7 separate regions of the Homo sapiens genome follow, and regions 2, 3, 4, 5, 6 and 7 are each linked to region 1. Evidence: promoter capture Hi-C in 16 types of primary human blood cells and fetal thymus (Javierre and others, 2016). All regions are on one chromosome and are shown on one strand. Each heading gives the region's core, a stretch centred on a gene start or on the middle of the fragment in contact. The rest is flanking DNA. Distances are from core to core; before and after follow the strand shown.

The links. Contacts are between HindIII fragments. The CHiCAGO score rates a contact against its expected background, and 5 or more counts as called.
Region 2: a contact is called between a fragment that was not itself captured here and the fragment with the promoter of DYNLT1 in region 1, in 2 of 17 cell types (neutrophils and total B cells). The highest score is 5.9, in neutrophils.
Region 3: a fragment that was not itself captured here is called in contact with the fragment with the promoter of DYNLT1 in region 1 in 1 of 17 cell types (M2 macrophages); the score reaches 5.9 in M2 macrophages.
Region 4: a contact is called between a fragment that was not itself captured here and the fragment with the promoter of DYNLT1 in region 1, in 3 of 17 cell types (neutrophils, fetal thymus and total CD8 T cells). The highest score is 9.1, in neutrophils.
Region 5: a fragment that was not itself captured here is called in contact with the fragment with the promoter of DYNLT1 in region 1 in 11 of 17 cell types (megakaryocytes, M2 macrophages, naive B cells and 8 more); the score reaches 13.5 in megakaryocytes.
Region 6: a fragment that was not itself captured here is called in contact with the fragment with the promoter of DYNLT1 in region 1 in 1 of 17 cell types (M2 macrophages); the score reaches 7.0 in M2 macrophages.
Region 7: a fragment that was not itself captured here is called in contact with the fragment with the promoter of DYNLT1 in region 1 in 9 of 17 cell types (neutrophils, non-activated CD4 T cells, activated CD4 T cells and 6 more); the score reaches 11.5 in neutrophils.

The regions. Positions count from the first base shown.
Region 1 is chr6:158,642,918-158,645,994 of GRCh38, reverse strand. DYNLT1 (dynein light chain Tctex-type 1) reads left to right here and starts at 1,252. Exons shown (of 5, transcript NM_006519.4): 1 at 1,252-1,313. The coding sequence starts at 1,287. It also overlaps a transcript of SYTL3 not described here. RefSeq lists silencers at 1,095-1,324, 1,485-1,814 and an enhancer at 938-1,881. The HindIII fragment of the contact is 7,871 bases long and covers 1-3,077 here.
Region 2 is chr6:159,143,894-159,146,593 of GRCh38, reverse strand. No RefSeq gene overlaps it. Among named protein-coding and RNA genes, the nearest start is that of FNDC1, 24 kb to the left of the region's middle. The HindIII fragment of the contact is 5,231 bases long and covers 1-2,700 here.
Region 3 is chr6:158,182,326-158,185,401 of GRCh38, reverse strand. The region is part of intron 2 of GTF2H5 (general transcription factor IIH subunit 5); the gene reads right to left. Among named protein-coding and RNA genes, the nearest start is that of GTF2H5, 16 kb to the right of the region's middle. RefSeq lists enhancers at 1,191-1,693, 1,694-2,198. The HindIII fragment of the contact is 1,658 bases long and covers 494-2,151 here.
Region 4 is chr6:159,088,237-159,091,255 of GRCh38, reverse strand. The region is part of intron 3 of LOC112267968; the gene reads left to right. Among named protein-coding and RNA genes, the nearest start is that of TAGAP, 45 kb to the right of the region's middle. The HindIII fragment of the contact is 5,565 bases long and covers 1-3,019 here.
Region 5 is chr6:158,200,060-158,202,813 of GRCh38, reverse strand. No RefSeq gene overlaps it. Among named protein-coding and RNA genes, the nearest start is that of GTF2H5, 33 kb to the right of the region's middle. The HindIII fragment of the contact is 7,369 bases long and covers 1-2,754 here.
Region 6 is chr6:158,150,816-158,153,515 of GRCh38, reverse strand. The region is part of intron 3 of SERAC1 (serine active site containing 1); the gene reads left to right. Among named protein-coding and RNA genes, the nearest start is that of SERAC1, 16 kb to the left of the region's middle. The HindIII fragment of the contact is 2,922 bases long and covers 1-2,700 here.
Region 7 is chr6:159,107,108-159,110,057 of GRCh38, reverse strand. The region is part of intron 1 of LOC112267968; the gene reads left to right. LOC124901449 reads right to left here. Exons shown (of 5, transcript XR_007059837.1): 1 at 2,410-2,950; 2 at 1,905-2,309; 3 at 1-743. Among named protein-coding and RNA genes, the nearest start is that of FNDC1, 61 kb to the left of the region's middle. RefSeq lists a silencer at 2,209-2,278. The HindIII fragment of the contact is 1,832 bases long and covers 469-2,300 here.

The DNA.
Region 1 (3,077 bases), core at 3-2,502:
ATACGTTCTTGCAAACTGAGAGAAGTGCTATGAGGAAAATGTACAGGATGCAGGGGTGGAGGATGAGGAGGTCGGCTACCTTAGATGCCGTGGTCACAGAATGGCTCTCTGTAGGAGATTTTGAGCTAAGATATGTTAAAAGTTTAGTCATCCAAAGATCACTAAGATTAGTCTATAGTCTGACAACTTAGTAACTATTGACTTATGGCAGGGCAGAATGGGTGAGGGGAGGGAGGAGTCGTTGGGTTAGGTTCCTCTTGAAGGGCTCTAATAAGACCCTGATAGACCGACCAGGTTACAGTCCGATGGTCATAATCCAGATGAGAGATATCAATCTTTAACTGGGGTCCCGAGCATATGGGGTAGAAATAACAAGGGTTGTTGATGGATTAGATGTGGGATTTGAAGTTTAGGTCTACCAAATCCCTGGGACCCTTGCAGTCAGCTCTTTCTTGGGGAATGGGAAGTGGGTTCCAGCAACCTGAATTCAAGTGCATGACGAAACCAGAAAAAGCAAACGCCAAAATCAAAACTCGGAGCCTCAGAATACCTGCCAATAGATGCATATGCCCCAGCTTTCCGTGGAGGGCAGTTTACCAGAGCCCAGTGCAATTCCTAATTTCCATAAAGAACCCACATACAAATAAAGTCTGTCTAGTTCACTATGGTTAAGGTAGTCAGGAAGTGTGCCACATTTTACAAAATTTTCCACCCAAAATGTTTTTTTTTAATGGTGCTTAAAGGAAAAATTCTCATTTACCTGGAAAACTTAACTCCCCAAAGGGAAGTTTCGTTCAGATAGCTAAAGCATGCCAATCCCAGTCCCCAAGGGAACTGCAACAACGTCTCACCGGGCGCACTGCCTTCAGCAGTCACTTTCGAGTTTGTTGCCAGGTGTCCGAGCGGGTTTGAACGTCCGCGTCAATCCACACAGTACAAACCGGAGGAGGGGCCGGGACCACGCTTCCCCTCCAGGACTGCCTTTTGTACGTGTGTTTTGTTTCTGTTGCTAAGGTTTAGGGAGCTGCCCGGCTACCCTCACGGATTCCCATGGAAACTACCACCTCCCAGAGGACAGGAGGAGAGGCGAATTCAGGGTCCACCCACGGGCCCCGCCCAGGGATGGGGTCACTGAGGGTCCGGGCAGCGAAGGGCGGGGCCCGGGAGCTGGGCATGGGCGAGGCAGGCGCGAGAGGAGAGGGGCGTGGCAGGTCCGGGGCGGGGCCTGAGTGCGCCTGCGCAGTCCGCGCCACTCAGGGAGCCGGAGGGGACGCGCCGGAGGAAAGATGGAAGACTACCAGGCTGCGGAGGAGGTAACCGCCGGGTCGGCGACGGAAGGGTGGAGGCCTAGAGCCCTGGCCGCGGAAGGACACGCGGTCCTGCCCGGAAAGGCCTGGCTGCCCACCTCCTTCAGCTAGGCCAGTCTCGGCAGCCCACGGCCTGAGCTTCCCGGTCGCCGGCGCTCCGCCCGGCCCCATTCTGCCCGGACATTGCCGCCGTTTCCCCGGCGCGGGGGGCGGGAAGGGGATTGAGCTTCTTCCCGCGCGGGGAGGCACCGGGCGTGACTCGGAGAGAGCGCCCCGGTGAGCGGTGCCGAGAAACCTTCCCGCAGGGCCTCGCCTCCGGCCCGCAGCCAAGCTCGCCGAGAGGATGACATCACCGCCCCTTGCTCTGCGGGGCTGACCCCAGCCCCAGCCCCAGCCTGGAGCGGGGCGCGGCGGCCGGGCTGGGAGCGCCGAGGCTTGGACGTCTCCCCGCGGAGGTGCGGGTGACGCTCCCGCCGCCAGCCCCTCCGCCCCGGGCTGGCGTCCCGGCCATCCCGCGCCTTTGTCTCGGGCCTCACCTGGTTCTGCAACGCTGGGAATGAGTAGCACATTTCATTTCCGTTTAATATGTCTGTAAGAAAGCTCATTGTTGTGGGGAAAAAATCATCTTTTATGCCTCCTTGAGGAAGTAGGATAAAGCCCACGATGTCGCCAAGCAGAAGACACCCATCGGCACCGTGTGCGTTAAATGGCTTTCCTTCAAGCTCACGGTCATTCGGGGAATAGAGCTGATGGGCGCAGCTGAGATACAACACTCATTTTCTTCTTACTGAATAATCCTTGTTGAAATTCAGATAGAGCCCTATGGATTTATTATGCAGCCTGTCAAAAATATAAACTATAGATACATTTGGTAAGGTTGGATATCTTACCATTTATGAAATTTAGTGGCTGGGCGCAGTGGCTCACGCCTGTAATCCCAGCACTTTGGGAGGCCTAGGCGGGCGGATCACCTGAGGTCAGGAGTTCGAGAGCAGCCTGACCAACATGGAGAAACCCCGTCTCTTTTAAAAATACAAAATTAGCCGGGCGTGGTGGCGCATGCCTGTAATCCCAGCTATTCGGGAGGCCGAGGCAGGAGAATCCCTTGAACCTGGGAGGCAGAGGTTGCCGTGAGCCAAGATCGCGCCATTGCACTCCAGCCTGGGCAACAAGAGCGAAACTCCGTCTCAAAAACCAAAAAAAAAGAAAAAAATTTCGTTTAAGGAGGAATGTTTTCAGGGAAAATAAAACTAAAACTTAAGGACTGATTCTAGAGTTTCAGTTTTGATCTGATTTCCTAACTAGCACACACTTCCTGTGACAGTGGCATAATCAGTGTTTGAATGCTGATGGCAACCAAGTGAATAATGACGAGAAGAGCTGGTTCAGGAGCAGTTGGCAAAGAAAAAAGCCTTTCCCCTTAAACTGTTACTAATATAATATTGGAAAATGTCTTGTATTACAGTAATATCGAGTAAAACTTCTAAAAAAGAAATCGCTTTGTAAAGGAAAGCGCTTAATACTGCAGTCCGATTCTGACTCCCACAAATAAGGTGGCTAAGTGGCTTCATTATTCGAGATCTCAATCGCATATGTGTAAAATGAAGGGGCTGGACAGAGTGATGAGTGTTCTACCTGGGATGGAGGCCCTGGGAGGTGGAGACCATGGCTGTCTTGTAGTAGGCATGTCTTAGGTATTTACTGAATGGCCCGTTCTGGTCCTCCCACCAGCCTCTTAGCAGCCTTTTCTGCATCTCTTCTAACTTCGTG
Region 2 (2,700 bases), core at 26-2,525, 500 kb before region 1:
CCGATGCTGGTACCTTGATCTTGGTCTTCCCAGCCTCCAGAAGTGTAAGCCAATTAATTTCTGTTTATTATAAATTACTTAAGCTCAGGTATTCTGTTATAGCAGCAGAAAATGGACTATATTTCCCAAATAGATTAAATATTTGGAGCCAGAGTATAAGAAATCATTAGAGTCAGGTTTCATTTGGTTTAAATTTATAGTCAAGACTAGTCAAAATTTTACTAGAGATGCAAGAGTTCCCTGAGATATCAATTACCATCAGTTATGGTGTACTCAGTGTTTGTTGTTCCTTGAAAGAGGGAAAATGTAATTGAAGGGTAATAACTCAAATACAAAGGAGAAGTAAAGGTGCAGAAAGTAGTGGGAGGGTCAGATGTTCTAAAGGCTATTTTTATGTACTTCAAAGCCCACCTTTATAGCAATTACCGCTGCTGCATACAGCTGCAAAGATTGCTCAAGAGGCTTCATTCCAAATACATTCAGTGCATATTTCATTTTAGTGAAACAAAAATAATCTAGTCTTTTAGTCTACTATGTTGTGAGTCCCTGAGGACAAGAAGAGAATTTTCGTCATCTTTGTATCCACAGCCTATAACAGTTTCCCCACAATTTGGAGGTGTTCAATAAAATGTTTGGGCATAAACAAAATCTCACAAATTATTAGGTGGAGCCAAACCTGTACCAAACAATAAAACCAAAGTTTTCCATGACTTAGTCATTAAAAAGAAAAATAAATGAACAGTGACTTAAGATGAATATAAGAATATAAGGTAGAGTCAAACCTGGTAGCTCACGTCTGTAATCCCAGTAACTCAGGAGGCTAAGGTGGGAGGATTGGTTGAGACCAGAAGTTTGAGATCAACTTGGGCAACATAGTGAGACCCATCTCTACAAAATATATTTTTTAAAAACTAGCCAGGCACCATGGTGGTGTATGCTTGTAATCCCAGCACATTGGAAGATCAAGCAGGAAGATTGCTTGAGCCCAAGAGTTCAAAGCTACAGTGAGCTATGATTGTGCCACTGCACTTCAGCCTGGACAACAGAACAAGACCCCATCTCAAAAAAAGAATATAAGGTAAATAAACAAAATTAATGCTTTTCCCATGTATATTAACAATAATCTATTACAGATTAAAATATAAAAGATTCCCTTTATAAAAGCAATCAACTCATACATTACCTAAGAATAATTTTATTGTTTAATGAGACCTAAAATGGAGAACTATTGATCTTTATCTAGAACCTTTAAAAAAGGGCTTAACTAAATGAAGAGATACTTTCTTCATCAAATATAAATTGCCATAGATGATAAGATGTACCATTATTGTATATAACACTAAGAAATAAAACACTGCCAATTAAGTTATGAAACATCATCTATTGTAAATAAATCCTAATTTCAAACATGTTATAATGTGGGGGCAGGGGAAGTTTCTGAGCCTCAGTGAAATATATTATGTTCTAAAATACTCAGACCGAATATGATAAAGATATTGATTCTTTCCAAATTAAAGTATGAGTTAAATGTACTTCTGATGGGACCATAAATTGTAACCTATCAAAATATTTAAGTAAATTTTTACATATTCATTAACATGTAGCAAGAGACTTAAGATGTTTACTATATTTAATTTCTGTGAATTTTAAGGAATAATCAGATTTATGCAAAAAGATGTCCACTCCACCACTTGAAAAGTGGAAAATTAAGTCTGGGCAATGTAATGAAACCCCATCTTTATCAAAAAAATTAGCTAGGCATGGTGGCATGTGCCTGTAGTCCCAGCTATTCCAGTGGCTGAGGTGGGAGGATCACTTGAGTGTGGGAGGTTGAGGCTGCGGTGAACTGTGCTCACACTATCACACTCCAGCTTGGGTGACAGAGTGAAACCCTGTCTCAAATAAAAAAAAAAAGAACCTAAAAATCCAATAATGGGGGGATGATAGTATAAAATTTAGTACATGTATCTGATTACATATTTAGCTATTAAAATTCAGTTTATACATAATTTTTAAAGACATGAAAAATATATAAAGGTATAAAGTTACAAATAAGGGCATAAAACCATATATGCATGTATCCATTTTAAAGCATACATAGAAAGAAATGGAAATACATGTATGAAATGTTATTACTAGTTATATTCTGCAACAGCAAAATACATCAATAGACATGCTGTTAAAACAAAATGAAAGCACATTTTGAAAGGCCTAAAACGTGATTTACAAGAACTACAGGTATCCTGGGGCAAAAAAAAAAAAAACCGTTTATTCAGGGGTGTGACGATTTGGTAATATGTCAACACAACTAGGATAAACTACACTTCCCAAAATTCCTTTTGATATGGTTTGGCTGTGTCCCCACCCAAAATCTCATCCTGAATTACAATAATCCCCATGTGTCAGGGGCGGGATCAGATGGAGATAATTGAATCAAGGGGGCAGTTTCCCCCATACTATTCTCATGATAGTGAGTTCTCATGAGTTCTGATGGTTTTATAAGGGGCTTCCCCCTTCACTTGGCTCTCTTTCTCTCCCCTACTGCCACGTGAAGAAGGAAGCGTTTGCTTCCCCTTCACCATGATTGTAAGTTTCCTGAGGCCTCCCCAGCCATGCAAAACTATGAGTCAATTAAGCCTCTTTTCTTTATAAATTACCCAGTCTCAGGTATGTCTTTATTAGCAGTGTGAGAACGGACAG
Region 3 (3,076 bases), core at 73-2,572, 460 kb after region 1:
TGCCTGGCTAATTTTTGTATTTTTTGTAGAAATGGGGTTTCACCACATTGCTCAGGCTGGTCTTGAACTCCTGGGCTTGGGCGATCCTCCAGCCTCGGCTTCCCAGTGTTGGGATTACAGGCGTGTGCCACCGTGTCTGGCATGCCTCAAACTTTTGAAAGACAATTTGAGATTGAATTTTCAAGCATGTACCTGAAGTAAAGATAACATGTAATGATTTAAAAAGACTCTTTAATTATTAAAAAAAAAAAAAAGACACTCAAAGTTTAAGGGACATTTTGTCATGAAACACAAAGAGCCTGGAATATTCCTATCTGAACACAGAGCCATTCCACTTCTATATTGAGAGTAGCAGAAAAAAAAACAAAACCCAAAGCCAAGAGCATATATACATACTTGAAGTCCCAGGATCAAGGCTATTGTACAGAAAAGAAACAACTTTGCCCTGGAAGTGTGAAGGGCAGATATCATGAAACCTTCTCCTAAAGAAGCTTAGTATAGCTCCTATAAAGTATGACTCTGAAAAGGATTATAGCATGATAATGGTATAATGGTAACCAGGATGATGCAGTGAGCTGTAAAATAGTCTGGTCAAAGCTGTCAGCACTGACAATCCATCAGAACAATCTTGGCTTAGTCAATGGTAAACTATCTTTCTTGATAATAACTGGCCAACAGATATTACTTAAAAAATTTTTAAGTATTACTCCATAAATTCCATATATCCTGGGAGTAGACTGTCTTAGGTTTATTTCCCCTTTAAAAGCATTTTCCAAAGTGTTTTCTGAGTCTGGGTTTTGTTCAATCTGAGATATGGGTGTCTAGATTAGAGCCCAGAACATTATAGGTGCTCAATAACAATTTGGTACATGAGTAGGGTCTTAAGAGAAGAGACACCATAGGAGACATTAAGTTAACCAGAAACACAGCTACCATTTTCCCAAGAAAACATATAATAGGGGTTTTACTGTTACAAAGACACAAAAGTCTAAAGAGAGTACTGGACCCAGAAAGCCTAGCCCCAGACCCCAGCTCTGCCAACCAAAATATGTATAATGTATAAAGTTACTCAACCTCTCAACTTCTCAGGCTTCTAACTAGAAATGAGAACAGGAATTCGATGCGGCTCCTCCTTCACATGTTTTTCCTTTTTTTTTTCCTTTTCTTGTCCCACTGATCAGAAAACCCAAATCACTACCTTGCTGGTGATGTACCCGCTAACCCCAAGGCTTTAATTATACAAAGAAAATAGCCATTCTTCTGTGCTCTCATGTGTAACCATGCCTTTTACTTAGGAAATCTAAGTATCAAACCAAGGTTGTGGAGTGTCCCACCTTGGAAAATAAAGCTGAACAACTGAGTCACTTCCAAGATGGCCAAATAGGAACAGCTCTGGTGTACAGCTCCCAGCAAGATCGACACAGAAGACAGGTGATTTCTGCATTTCCAACTGAGGTACCTGGTTCATCTCATTGGGACTGGTTGGACAGTGGGTGCAGCCCATGGAGGGCGAGCCGAAGCAGGGCAGGGTGTCGCCTCACCCAGGAAGTGCAAGGGGTCAGGGGATTTCCCTTTCCTAGCCAAGGGAAGCTATGAGTGACTATACCTGGAGGAGCAATACACTCCAGCCCAAATGCTGCACTTTTCCCACTGTCTTCGCAACAAGCGGACCAGGAGATCCCCTCCTGTGCCTGGCTCGGTGGGTCCCACGCCCACGGAGCCTTGCTTGCTGCTAGCGCAGCGTCTGAGATTGACTTGGGACACCGGAGCTTGGTGGGGGGAGGGGTGACCGCCATTGCTGAGGCTTGAGTAGGCGGTTCCATGCTCACAGTGTAAACAAAGCAGCAGGGAAGCTCAAATTGGGCAGAGTCCACTGCAGCTCAGCAAGGCCTACTGCCTCTCTAGATTCCACCTCTGAAGGCAGGACATATCTGAACAAAAGGCAGCACACAGCTTCTCCAGACTTAAACGTCCCTGCCTGACAGCTCTGAAGAGAGCAGTGGTTCTCCCAGCATGGCATTTGAGCTCCGATAATGGATAGACTGCCTCTTCAAATGGGTCCCTGACCCCCATGTAGCCTGACTGGGAGACACCTCCCAGTAGGGGCTGACAGACACCTCATACAGGCAGGTGCCCCTCTACGATGAAGCTTCCAGAGGAAGGATCAGGCAGCAATATTTACTGTTCTGCAGCCTCCACTGGTGATACCCAGGCAAACAGGGTCTGGAGTGGACCTCCAGCAAACTCCAACAGACCTGCAGCTGAGGGTCCTGTCTGTTAGAAGGAAAACTAACAAACAGAAAGGAGTAGCATCAACATCACCAAAAAGGACATCCACACCAAAACCCCATCCATAGGTCACCAACATCAAAGACCAAAGATAGATAAAACCACAGAGATGGGGAGAAACCAGAGCAGAAAGGCTGAAAATTCCAAAAACCAGAACACCTCTTCTCTTCCAAAGGAACACAACTCCTCACCAGCAAGGGAAGAAAACTGGATGGAGAATGAGTTTGACGAGATGACAGAAGTTGGCTTCAGAAGGTCGGTAATAACAAACTTCTGTGAGTTAAAGGAGGATGTTCTACCCATCGCAAGGAAGCTAAAAACCTTGAAAAAAGTTTAGACGAATGGTTAACTAGAATAACCAGTGTAGAGAAGAGCTTAAATGACCTGATGGTGCTGAAAACCACAGTACGAGAACTTCGTGAAGCACATACAAGCTTCAATAGCCGATTTGATCAAGCAGAAGAAAGGATATCATTGATTGAAGATCAAATTCATGAAATACAACAAGAAGACAAGATGAGAGGAAAAAGAATGAAAAGAAATGAACAAAGCCTCCAAGAAATATGCGACTATGTGAAAAGACCAAATCTACGTTTGATTGGTGTATCTGAAAGTGACGAGGAGAATGGAGCCAAGTTGGAAAACACTCTTCAGGATATTATCCAGGAGAATTTCCCCAACCTAGCAAGGCAGGCCAACATTGAAATTCGGGAAATACAGAGAACACCACAAAGATACTCCTCAAGAAGAGCAACCCCAAGACACATAATTGTCAGATTCACCAAGG
Region 4 (3,019 bases), core at 293-2,792, 440 kb before region 1:
GGGCCTCATTGCAAAAGGGAGTTTTGAGCAAAAATATGGAGTTGGCCAAGCAGATATCCAGAGGAAGAGCATTCATGGCAGAGGAAACAGCAAGAGCAGAAGGCCAGAGAGTGGAGCGTGCCAAGCACATCGGGGAATTGCAGGCGGGCCTGCAGGGATGGAGGGGAGGGAGCAAGAGCAGGAGGACAGAGGAGGAGGTCAGCAGGTGGCGGGCGGCAGATCAAACAGAGTTTCATGGGCCTTGGCAGGGCTTTGGCTTGTTTTCCTTGCTGAGTGAGATGGAAAGCCATTGAAAAAAATGACAGCAGAGTAATAATATGATCTCACTTCTGTGTTAAAAGATTCGGTCTGGCTGCTTTGCTGAAAATAGTGTAGGGCTCAGGGAGATGCCAGGGGTAGGAAGAAGGGGAAGTGTTAGAAGATGACTGCAGAAAATCCAGGCATGGGATGATGGTGGCTCAGACTGGAGAAACTGCAGCTGAGGCGGTAAGACGGGACTGGATTCTTAGTTCATTTTGAAGGTGAGACCAACCTGCCAAATTGGAGGTGGGGCTTTCTCCCCTTTTGGGAAAAATCAAAGAGGACTGAAATTCCCTGGCCTGGAATTCACATCTTGATGTATTTAGTAGCCAACAGCAGCTCTGTGAAGTTGGTATCACTTCTTCATCGCACCTTGCATGCTTGCCCAAGTCACAGAGTTATAATATAATAAAGGATGAAGTTGCCGTCCACTGAGATGAGAAAGGGTGGAGTGAAGCAGGTTCTGGACCTGTGAGATCAGCAGTTCAGTGTTGGACGTGTGGGCTCGAGATGCTGTTAGACGTCTGAAGGAAAATGGTGGGAGGCAGTTGGATATTGGAGTCGCCCATATTAGTTTTCTATTGCTGGACAAGTTTGCTCCAAGATTTGGCAGCTTACAACAAGGATCATTTATTAACCCACAGTTTCTGTGGGTTGGGTTTCTGAGAGCCATGTAGCTGAGTGGTTCTGGTTTAGAACTGCAGTCAAGGTGTTAGACAGGGCTGCAGTCCTGTCTAACAGGTAGTCTAGTAGGTAATGAGGATGACCTCATTACCTCATTTGAAGGCGAGTTTGAGGAAGGATCAGCTTCCAAGTTCACTCACACAGGTGGTGCAGGTCTTGGAAGATCCACTTCCACGCCCACTTGTGTGGCTGTTAATAAACCTCAGATCCTCATCCTGTGAACCTCACATGGCCCCTGGCTTACCCCAGAATGAGTGAGCCGAAAGAGAATGAGAGAGTACCCAACATAAAAACCACAGTAGTTTTATAACCTCATCTTGGAAATGACATCCCATCATTTCTGCCATCATCTACTCACTAGAACCAGTCAACAAGGGTTGGTGGACATATTTTTTAAAACCATCTCATTGACATACAGATTATATTTAAAGCCCTGAGTGTAATGAGAAATGAAAAGGGGACCAAGGACCATATCTTGGATACTTCAACATTAAAAGGTTGGGGAGAAGAGGAGAAATCATCAAAGGAGGCCAAGAATGAGAGGCTTGCGAGTGGGAGGACAATCATGAGACTGTGGCATTTTGGAACCAAGTAAAGAAAGTGCATCAAGGAGGAGAGAGTGAGCAACTTCAGCAAATGCTGCTGTGGGATAGGGTTAGTCGTTTATACTGGCTTGCCCAGGAAGGTCCCAGCTCACATCTGCTTTCGTCCTGGTGTTATTACTTATCAGGCTCCCTTTTGCTCTCAAAAGGAGGCAGATTTGACAAAGAATCTTATGGACATCCCATACCCAAGTCAAGTAATGTGAGCACTGAGATTTGGGGATTGGATCAGGCATCATAGAGGTCACTGGTGATAATGAGCGATCAGTGTCTAATTGTGTCTTACTGTGGGACATACATCAGCATACCTTTGCATTCAAAATACTTTTCCTACTAAAAGCTATTACAGAGCTAAGTAAACTATTAGCTAATATTAGTGTAAGTATAACATAAAATATCAAATTAAAGTAAGATTTTAAAAAACATAAGCTCAATTCATTCACTAAATTTTAACTCTTCTCAATCACTATTTAATGTAATTACAGATGATGTGAAAGTTTGAGTACATCTAAGTTCATTTTATGGAGCTGAGTGTGGTGGCTCACACCTGCAATCCCAGCACTTTGGGAGGCCAAGGCGGGCAGATCACTTGAGGTCAGGAGTTCGAGACCAGCCTGGCCAACATGGTGAAACCCCATCTCTACTAAAAAATATGAAAATTAGCCAGGCATGGTGGCGCACGCCTGTAATCCCAGCTATTTAGGAGGCTGAGGATTGAACCCGGGAGGCGGAGGTTGCAGTGAGCTGAGATCATGCCACTGCACTCCAGCCAGGACAACAGAGCAATATTTTGTCTCAAAAATAAATAAATAAACAAATTCATTTTATGAGTTACTTATTTTGAAAAAAATTGTCACAATTGCAATGCTATAAAATTGTTTTCAAAACAAAATAATTTGGCAAACAGGCAAAAAGAACATCTTTAATAATGATCCAAGTTGATAAAATAGAAACAGACATAACAAGATTCATATTTATTCCTAATTATTCACGAAACGTTTTACATGTGATAAAATGTATAAAAGCTCTCATCATGGCTTGTTCCCTGGTGTCATAAACATCCAAATGTCCATGGCTGTCCTGAATCTTGTCTTCCCCGCTGGACACTTATGAAGGATGACCTCATTACCACCCATCTCCACTTAGCCTATGCCAAATTTTAATACCAAGGTCGATCATTCCTATGGCCCAGGCACCAGGTTTATCGCTTCATACGTCTTGATGTATTTAGTAGCCAACAGCAGCTCTGTGAAGTTGGTATCTCTTCTTCATCGCACCTTGCATGCCTGCCCAAGTCCCAGAGTTATAATACTCCCTCACGGTATGTTGCCATTTGTCAAGTGACAACTTACTTAGATGAATTATTAAACTTTGTTTAAAAAATTCTGGCTTATTTTTGACATCTTAAGGAAGTAGAAAGCTGATGTTAACTT
Region 5 (2,754 bases), core at 200-2,699, 440 kb after region 1:
TTTCTTTTTTTTTGTTTTTTGGAGACAGAGTCTCACTCTGTTACCCAGGCTGGAGTGCAGTGGCATGATCTCGGCTCACTGCAATCTCCGCCTCCCAGATTCAAGTGATTCTCCTGTCTCAGCCTCCTGAGTAACTGGGATTACAAGCATGCACCACAACGCCTGGCTAATTTTTTGTATTTTTAGTAGAGATGGGGTTTCGCCATGTTGCCCAGGCTGGTCTTGAGCTCCTGAGCTCGGGTGATCCCCTGCCTTGGCCTCCCAAAATGCTGGGATTACAGGGTTGAGCCACTGCGTCCGGCCTAAACATTTTTCTTTAACTTCTATTTCTCTATGACACCATCACTTTGGGTGTTTGAGCTTAGCTACTCAAAATGTGACCTGCCAGACAGCAGCACTGCCATCCCCTGGAAGCCTTCTAGAAATGCAGAATCTCAGGCCCCAGCCCACACCCACTTAATCGGAATCTGCATTCTAAGGACTTCCAGATGATTTGTAAGTACTTTAAAGTTGAAAAGCACTGATATAGACTAAGAAGCCCTCAAAGGCATATCTGCCTCAGTCAAGACCATAACAACTTTATGCTGGAAAATTTTCAGAGTGGCTTTTGGACCAATTGCCCAGTATAGTCATAGTTAGAGGTTTAAACACTCATAGAACATTTACTTTTAGACATGGTAGCTTCTACTACCATATCCAAAGTGCAATAGTTACAAATTACAGCTGCAAATAGCACCTGATTTAATGTGTTTTTTTTTGTTTGTTTTTTTCTCTGTTGCCCAGGCTGGAGTGCAGTGGCACGATCTCGGCTCACTGCAACCTCCGCCTCCCGGGTTCAAGCAATTCTCCTGCCTCAGCCTCCTGAGTAGCTGGGATTACAGGTGCCCGCTACCACGCCCAGCTAATTTTTTTGTATTTTTAGTAGAGACGGGGTTTCACCATGTTGGTCAGGCTGGTCTCGAACCCCTGACCTCGTGATCCACCCGCCTTGGCCCCCCGAAGTGCTGGGATTATAGGCATGAGCCACCGCGCCCGGCAGATTTAATGTGTTTGATAAAACTGACATAAGACTAACCCTTCCATTCCATGTCCACAGAAGTTCAAAACCTTCCAAGATTTCTGTGAATTCTTCATGTCACTAAATTAGTTGTGTTTGTTTATCTCTCACGGACCTGCCTCTGCTCTCCCTGTTTTTGTGTGTCAAACTCAACTTCTGTCCTTAATTTAATAAAATATAAGTCACACATCCAAATACCTTATGTAAGTGCAGATGTTACTGAGGGCTTGAGGGAGCCGGAGGAGTGATGAGAGCTAGGTAAACCAGTTAATACTGAATTAGACATCTACCTCCGAAAGACTCTGCCTGAGAAAGGATATGCTGACATAGCTTAAGAGTTTGTTTCACACACACACACACACACACACACACACACACACACACACACACAAAAGCATGGTAAACAGTAAATAAACACAAGACTAAAATATCTTAGTGAATTTATGTTTAAAAAAAAAAAACTTAACCAATTATGAGTGCTGCAATGACTTTCCTCCGTCTAACCAAAGGATCCAACTCAAGCTAGCTACTGTCAATAAATAAGATCCTGCAACGACTTGGGGAATCAGTTATCTAATTAGTGAATTTTAACAAAAGCTGGTTCCTTGCTGGGCAGACTCAGCATTTCCTTGGCAGTAAAAGGAAACAGCTGTGCTGGTAGATTAGCCTACTGGAAACCGAACGAAACCCAAAAACAAAACCTCCTACCCAGAGTCTCCATTGTGCACACACCGGCCCAGGAGTTCTCAGCTCTGAATGCACAGCAGAAGCACCAGGCAGGCCTTTTAAAGATGCTGACGCTTGGGTCATATCCCAGAACAACTAAATTTGAATGACTGGGGGCTGAGGCCAGGCATCAACATTTTTAGAAAGCTCCCCATCTAAAATCAGAAAAAAAAACTTTCCTCTGAAATAGAAATCCTGCTTCAGGTTTTTCATAAAGGAGCATGAAAAATTAAGGGAAAAGGCAAGTGTCAAAGCAGTGTGATCTCATTGGGATAGGGAGTAGAACTCTTTTTTTTTTTTTTTTTTTTTGAGACAGTCTTGCTCTGTTGCCCGGGTTGGAGTGCAGTGGCGTGATCTCTGCATACTGCAAGCTCTGCCTCCCGGGTTCATGCCATTCTCCTATCTCAGCCTCCCAAGTAGCTGAGACTACAGGTGCCCGCCACCACGCCCGGCTAGTTTTTTGTATTTTTAGTAGAGACGGGGTTTCGCCGTGTCAGCCAAGATGGTCTCGATCTCCTGACCTCGTGATCTGCCTGCCTTGGCCTCCCAAAGTGCTGGGATTACAGGCGTGAGCCACCACGCCCAGCCAAAACTCTTTTTATATTCTTTAAAAAAGTGAAGATTGTCATTAGCTTTTAAAATTTTTTTTGAGGCTGGGCGTGGTGCCTCACGCCTGTAATCCCAGCACTTTGGGAGGCCAAGGCGGGTGGATCATGAGGTAAGGAGATCGAGACCATCCTGGCTAACACGGTGAAACCCCGTCTCTACTAAAAATACAAAAAACTAGCCGGGTGTGGTGGTGGGTGCCTGTAGTCCCAGCTACTTGGGAGGCTGAGGCAGGAGAATGGCGTGAACCCGGGAGGCGGAGCTTGCAGTGAGCCAAGATCGTGCCACTGCACTCCAGCCTGGGAGACAGCAAGACTCCGTCTAAAAAAAAAATGTTTTTTGACACAGGGTCTCACTTTGTTGCC
Region 6 (2,700 bases), core at 143-2,642, 490 kb after region 1:
AAATTGAATATGTATACTATCAGAAGGTATGTAATTCTAGATACCTGTACGTGTAGATAGAGGAACACGTACTGTATGCACAGTACAGATGTATAAGATATGTCACAGCATTGTTGTAACAGACTCAAACTAGAAACGTTCTCAATACCCATCTATGGGAGAGTGAATAAGTAAGTTGTAGTATATCCATGCAATGGATAATTGCATACTATACGAAAATCTAAGTGCGGGAACTACATTTTACATGCAACAACATGGATAACTCACAAATACAAGGCTGAGCAAAAGAATACATGTAGTGTGATTCCATTGATATGAATTTCAAAAACAGGCAAAACTAAGCTCTGTTGTTTAAGGATGCATATATAGGTGGTAAAACTGTAAAGAAAAGCACATTGTTATAATAAAAATCAGAATCATATATAGAGATGAGAACAGATCATTATCCGGGAGGGACACATTGTGGGTTTCTGGGGTTCTGTTAACATTCTGTTTCTTGCCTGGATATGATTATGCAGCTATTTATTATTTGTAAGCCGAAATGTGTATATACATGTATATGTATATATACAGTCATGTGTCAATAATGGCGATACATTCTGAGTAATGTGTTGTTAGGTGATTTCATTGTTGTGCAATCATCACAGAGTGCACTTGCACAGACCTGGGTGGCAGAGCCTACTCCACACCTAGGCTGTATGGGACAGCCTGTTGCTCCTAGGCTCCAAACCTGTGCAGCCATGTGACTGTGCTGAACACGGTAGGCTATTATAACACAATGGGAAGTATTTGTGTACCTAAACGTATCCAAACAAAAAAAGGTACAGTAAATAAAATTTTAAAATGGTACACTTATATAGGGCACTTACCATGAGTGGAGCTTACAGGACCTGGAGTTGCTCTGGGTGAGTGAGAGTGAGGGCCTAGGACATTACTGCACACTACTATAGACTTTATCAACACTGTGTACTTAGGCTACATTACACTTTTTTTTTTTTCGGAGATGGAGTCTTGCTCCGTCGCCCTGGCTGGAGTGTAGTGGCATGATCTCGTCTCACTACAACCTCTGCCTCCTCGGTTCAAGCAATTCTCCTGTCTCAGCCTCCTGAGTAGCTGGGATTACAGGCGCCCGCCACCATGCCTGGCTAAGTTTTGTATTTTTAGTAGAGCCTTGGTTTTGCCATGTTGGCCAGGCCGGTCTTGAATTCCTGACCTCGGGTGATCCGCCCGCCTCGGCCTCCCAGAGTGTTGAGATTACAGGTGTGAGCCACTGTGCCTGGCTGAACTTTGTGTTTTCTTTAAAGGCAGAGTCTCACTGTGTTTTGCCTAGGCTGGCCTTGAACTCCTGGATGCAAGTGATCCTCCTGCCTCAGCCTTCTAACTAGCTGGTACTACAGGCATGCACCACTGCACCCAGCTACACTATATTTATAAAACAATATTTTTTTCTTCAATAATTAACCTAGCTGGATGTAGTGGTGTGGGCCTGTAGTCTCAGCTATTCGGGAGGCTGAGGCAGGAGGATGACATGACCCCAGAAGTTTGAGGCCAGCCTGGGCAACGTGGTTGAGACCCTGTCTCTAAATATAAATAAAGTCCTGGCTTTAATAATTAACCTCAGCTTACTGTATTTTTTTTTTTTAACTTATGAACTTAAATTTTTGAAAAACTTTTTGACTTTTGTAATTACACTTAGCTTAAAACACAAACACGTTGTATAGCTATACAAAAATATTTTCTTTCTTTATGTCTTTATTCTATAAACTTTTGTCTGTTAAAAAATATTTTCGAGGCCGGGCGCGGCAGCTCACGCCTGTAATCCCAGCACTTTGGGAGGCCGAGGTGGGTGGATCACAAGGTCAGGAGATTGAGACCATCCTGGCTAACATGGCGAAACCCCATCTCTACTAAAAATACAAAAACAAAATTACCCGGGCGTGGTGGCAGGCGCCTGTAGTCCCAGCTACTTGGGAGGCTGAGGTGAGAGAATGGCGTGAACCCAGGAGGTAGAGCTTGCGGTGAGCCGAGATTGTGCCACTGCACTTCAACCTGGGTGACAGAGTGAGACTCCACCTCAAAAAAAAAAATCTTTTTGAGACGAGGTCTTGCTCTGTCGCCCAGGCTGGAGAGCAGCGGCTACTCGTGGGTACAGTCATAGCATGCCGCAGGCTTGAACTCCTGGGCTCAAGGGATCCTTCTGCTTTAGCCTCCCGAATAGCTGAGACTACGTGCCTTGCTACTGTGCCAGCAAAATTTTTTTTTTTAACTTTTTAAATGTTTTTGTTAAAAATGAAACACAAACCCATTAGCCTAGGCCTACACAGGGTCAGGATCATCCATATCACTGTCTCCACCTCCGCATCTTGTCCCACTGTGAGGTCTTCAGGGGCAGTGACATGCATGGAGCTGTCATCTCCTGTGATAACAACACTTTCTTCTGGATGCCTCCTGATGGACCTGCCCTAGGCATTTTACAGGTAGGTAGAAGGAGTACACTCTGAAATAGCAATAAAAGTATACTATAGTGAATACATAAATCAGTAACATTTATTATTATCAAGTATTATGTACTATACGTAATTGTATGAGCTAGACTTTTATAGGACGGGCAGCACAGTAGATTTGTTTACACAGCATCACCACAAACGTGAGTAATGTGTTACGATGGCTACTCAGTCACTAGGAGACAGGAATTTTTTA
Region 7 (2,950 bases), core at 135-2,634, 460 kb before region 1:
ATCTTGGGATCTGAAGATCACACATGGCCCTCTGCAAGAGGTTGCACGGCGAGGACATTTGGCAAGTTCCACTGTACCTCTTTCTCTACCCAGCACCTGCTTAGAAAGGGCAAAGGTTGTGGCAGTAGCAGGGAGGTGTGGGATGGCCCCCAAGAAGGGTGGACACAGAGACCCGGGAAGGAGGAACTGGATCTGTAGCCAGCAATGCATATATTTAATTTTATTCCATGATTTCTTCCAGGATTAGCTAACTCTATCCACCCATCCTGGCTTATGTGGTCACCTCCTGAACATGGGGTCCAGTCCACATGAAATCACCCTCCTATCAGCTTGTTCCTCCATTCCTTCTTCCAGCCAGATTGTTACTCTATGCCCTGGGACCTGAGCATGCCTGGCCCATTCCCAAGCCTGCCCTGGGCTTCCTGGTATTTCTACTTCCAGCTCATACCTCACTTCCTCCAAGAAGCTTTCCCTGACCTCTCTAGTCCAGCAAGTTCCTCCTCCACCGAGCCTCTCCCACTGGCCTTTCCACAGTTAGGCACTTTCTCCAATGCTGCCTGTTGGGTCACTTGCCTTTTCATGTAGCACCATGAGGACAGGGACACTCCTTGTCTGTACCTTTTCATGTAGCACCATGAGGACAGGGACACTCCTTGTCTGTACCTCCTCAGGAGTCTGCAAAGGGTTCTGCATGGAATCTGGGCGATGTTGACTGCAGAAAGACTGGACAAGTGCCAGGTAATCTGTAGGTGTGCAAGAATGAATGGAAAAATTTTAAATATCCACTATAGACAGAGGGAAAAAAAAATCCTATTTGAAATGTTACCTTGCCCCTAGGTTTGAATTTAAGAGGTATTTTCTCCAATTTGATCATCAAAATATGACAAGTGAATGCTGTTGCTATGAAGTCTTATGAAGATCTTGCATGTTATCCAGGCCTCGGGTTCCCTCTTCTCTCTCTAACAAAATATAGTTTAAAATTTTCACTTGTGGGCTGGGCGCAGTGGCTGACACTGGTAATCCTAGCACTTAGGGAGGCCAAGGTGGGCAGATCGCTTGAGCCTAGGAGTTCAAAATCAGCCTGGGAAACATGGCAAAACTCCATTTATTTAAAAAAAAAAAAATTAGCCTGGCATGTTAGCGTGTGCCTGTACTCCCAACTACTCCAGAGGCAGAGACAGGAGGATCGCTTGAGCCAGGGAGGTCGAGGCTGCAGTGAGCCTTGATTGCGCCACTGCACTCCAGCCTAGGAGACAGAAGGAGACCCTGTCTCAAAATAAGAAAATCACTTGTAATTTTGCTTATTTAGTATTTGGTGAATGAACTCATTAGAAGTCACATTATCAGCCACCGACTCCGGTCAGCCGTGGGCTGGGAGAGAAAGGGAGAGCAGAGCAGATGCAGCTCCCGCCCTCCTGGAACATGACATCATCTAATTTGTTCATTCAACAGAAACTTCGCACACACTTACAAAGCACCCCGCTCTGTTCTAGGTGGGCTCTGGGGATAGAAAACTGAGTAAGAGAATGTGGTCCCTGTCCTTAGGCACACATTATCCATTGGAGAAAACAGCTGAACCAGGCACAAGTCACTAAGTTCCCAGTTTCTCAGAGGGTTTGATGAAGGTGTTAGATATACAGAATCACTCTAATACTATGTCTGAAAAAAAAAATACTTCCCATTAAAGAGCAAGGTTGTAGGAACATTTTGAGGGCAGGAAAGGAAGAGCAACTCTTCACTCTACGCTCAAAAAAATCTCCCGCCTGGTCTCTGATAGCTTCATTTCTTTTCACGAGAAAATAAAGCATTACATTTCATAAAAGACAAGGCTTAGAAAGCTGACTTCAACTACTGTCATATTCCCAAGGGGAGCAAGGAAACGCAGGGGAAAACACAAGGCATACCCATTTTACAGATAAGGAGACTGAGGCTCTGTGGGGAAGGTTTAGCCGGTTGGCTGGGCTTGCGGGTGAGTTAGAGGAGGTGGCACTGCTCCAGCCCACATCCCTGGTTCTCAGGCATCCCTCTCTCCCGGGCTCCTCCATTAAACTCTGCGTGCCAGCCCAGGGCACCAATCATGGGCAGAGTGGGCTCTCCGCTGCCTCGTGGGGTCCCAGCAGAATTAACTTTCATGAAGCAAGTTAGAGAAAAGTTAAGAAGAGCAGCCTCAATGCAGGTTGCTAAAGCCCAGCCCCACTGAGCAGGTGCACGGAGCCAGCCTGCTGTTCTGCAAGCACAACCCGCTAGATGCCAAACCAGTGTGTTGCAGGTGGTCTGAGCCAGGAAGTAGATCTGAAGCTTCAGGGTAGCTGTGTGAGTGAAAAAAAAAAAAAAAAAAAAAAGAACGTGATTCCTATCTGACCGATGACTCAGAAGTATGAACTGGGGGGCCTTTCCTTCCTGACCCACCTGACAGGGCCATGGCCGACACAGCCGTGTGTACACCAGTGAGCCTGTCACATCGCGGGTCTGCTGTGACATTCTGTCGAGCCCGAGGCAGAATCCAGTGTGAGCAGATTTCTCACGCTCCAGGCTTCCCTCACAAAGCTGCGTTTCCCTCAGCTACTTCTTTACCTATTTGGAAAGAATAGCAGGAAAAGGAAAGATGGATCTTGGTGAATCTTCCAAAAATCCTGTACTGGATTCCAGAGCTGGACTACTCAAAGGTGTGAAATTGGATCTCCTCCTCTTTAAAAACTCTTTTCCTGGGGTCTTCATACTCCCCACTTCTTCCTCTCCCATAAAAACCTGGTTTTAGGAAGGGAAGACATCAAATCATTCACCTGGAGGAGTACATGAATAAGAGCACCTTACCATGTACTTGCCTTTTAACAGAGATCAAGAAACATTTTGCAAAGGAATGAGTGTTACCAGATAGGAAGTCGTGACTGTGAGTTGTCCAGGTTCTTGGCGTGTTGGACAAAGGATTTAATAAAATGCACAAAGCAAC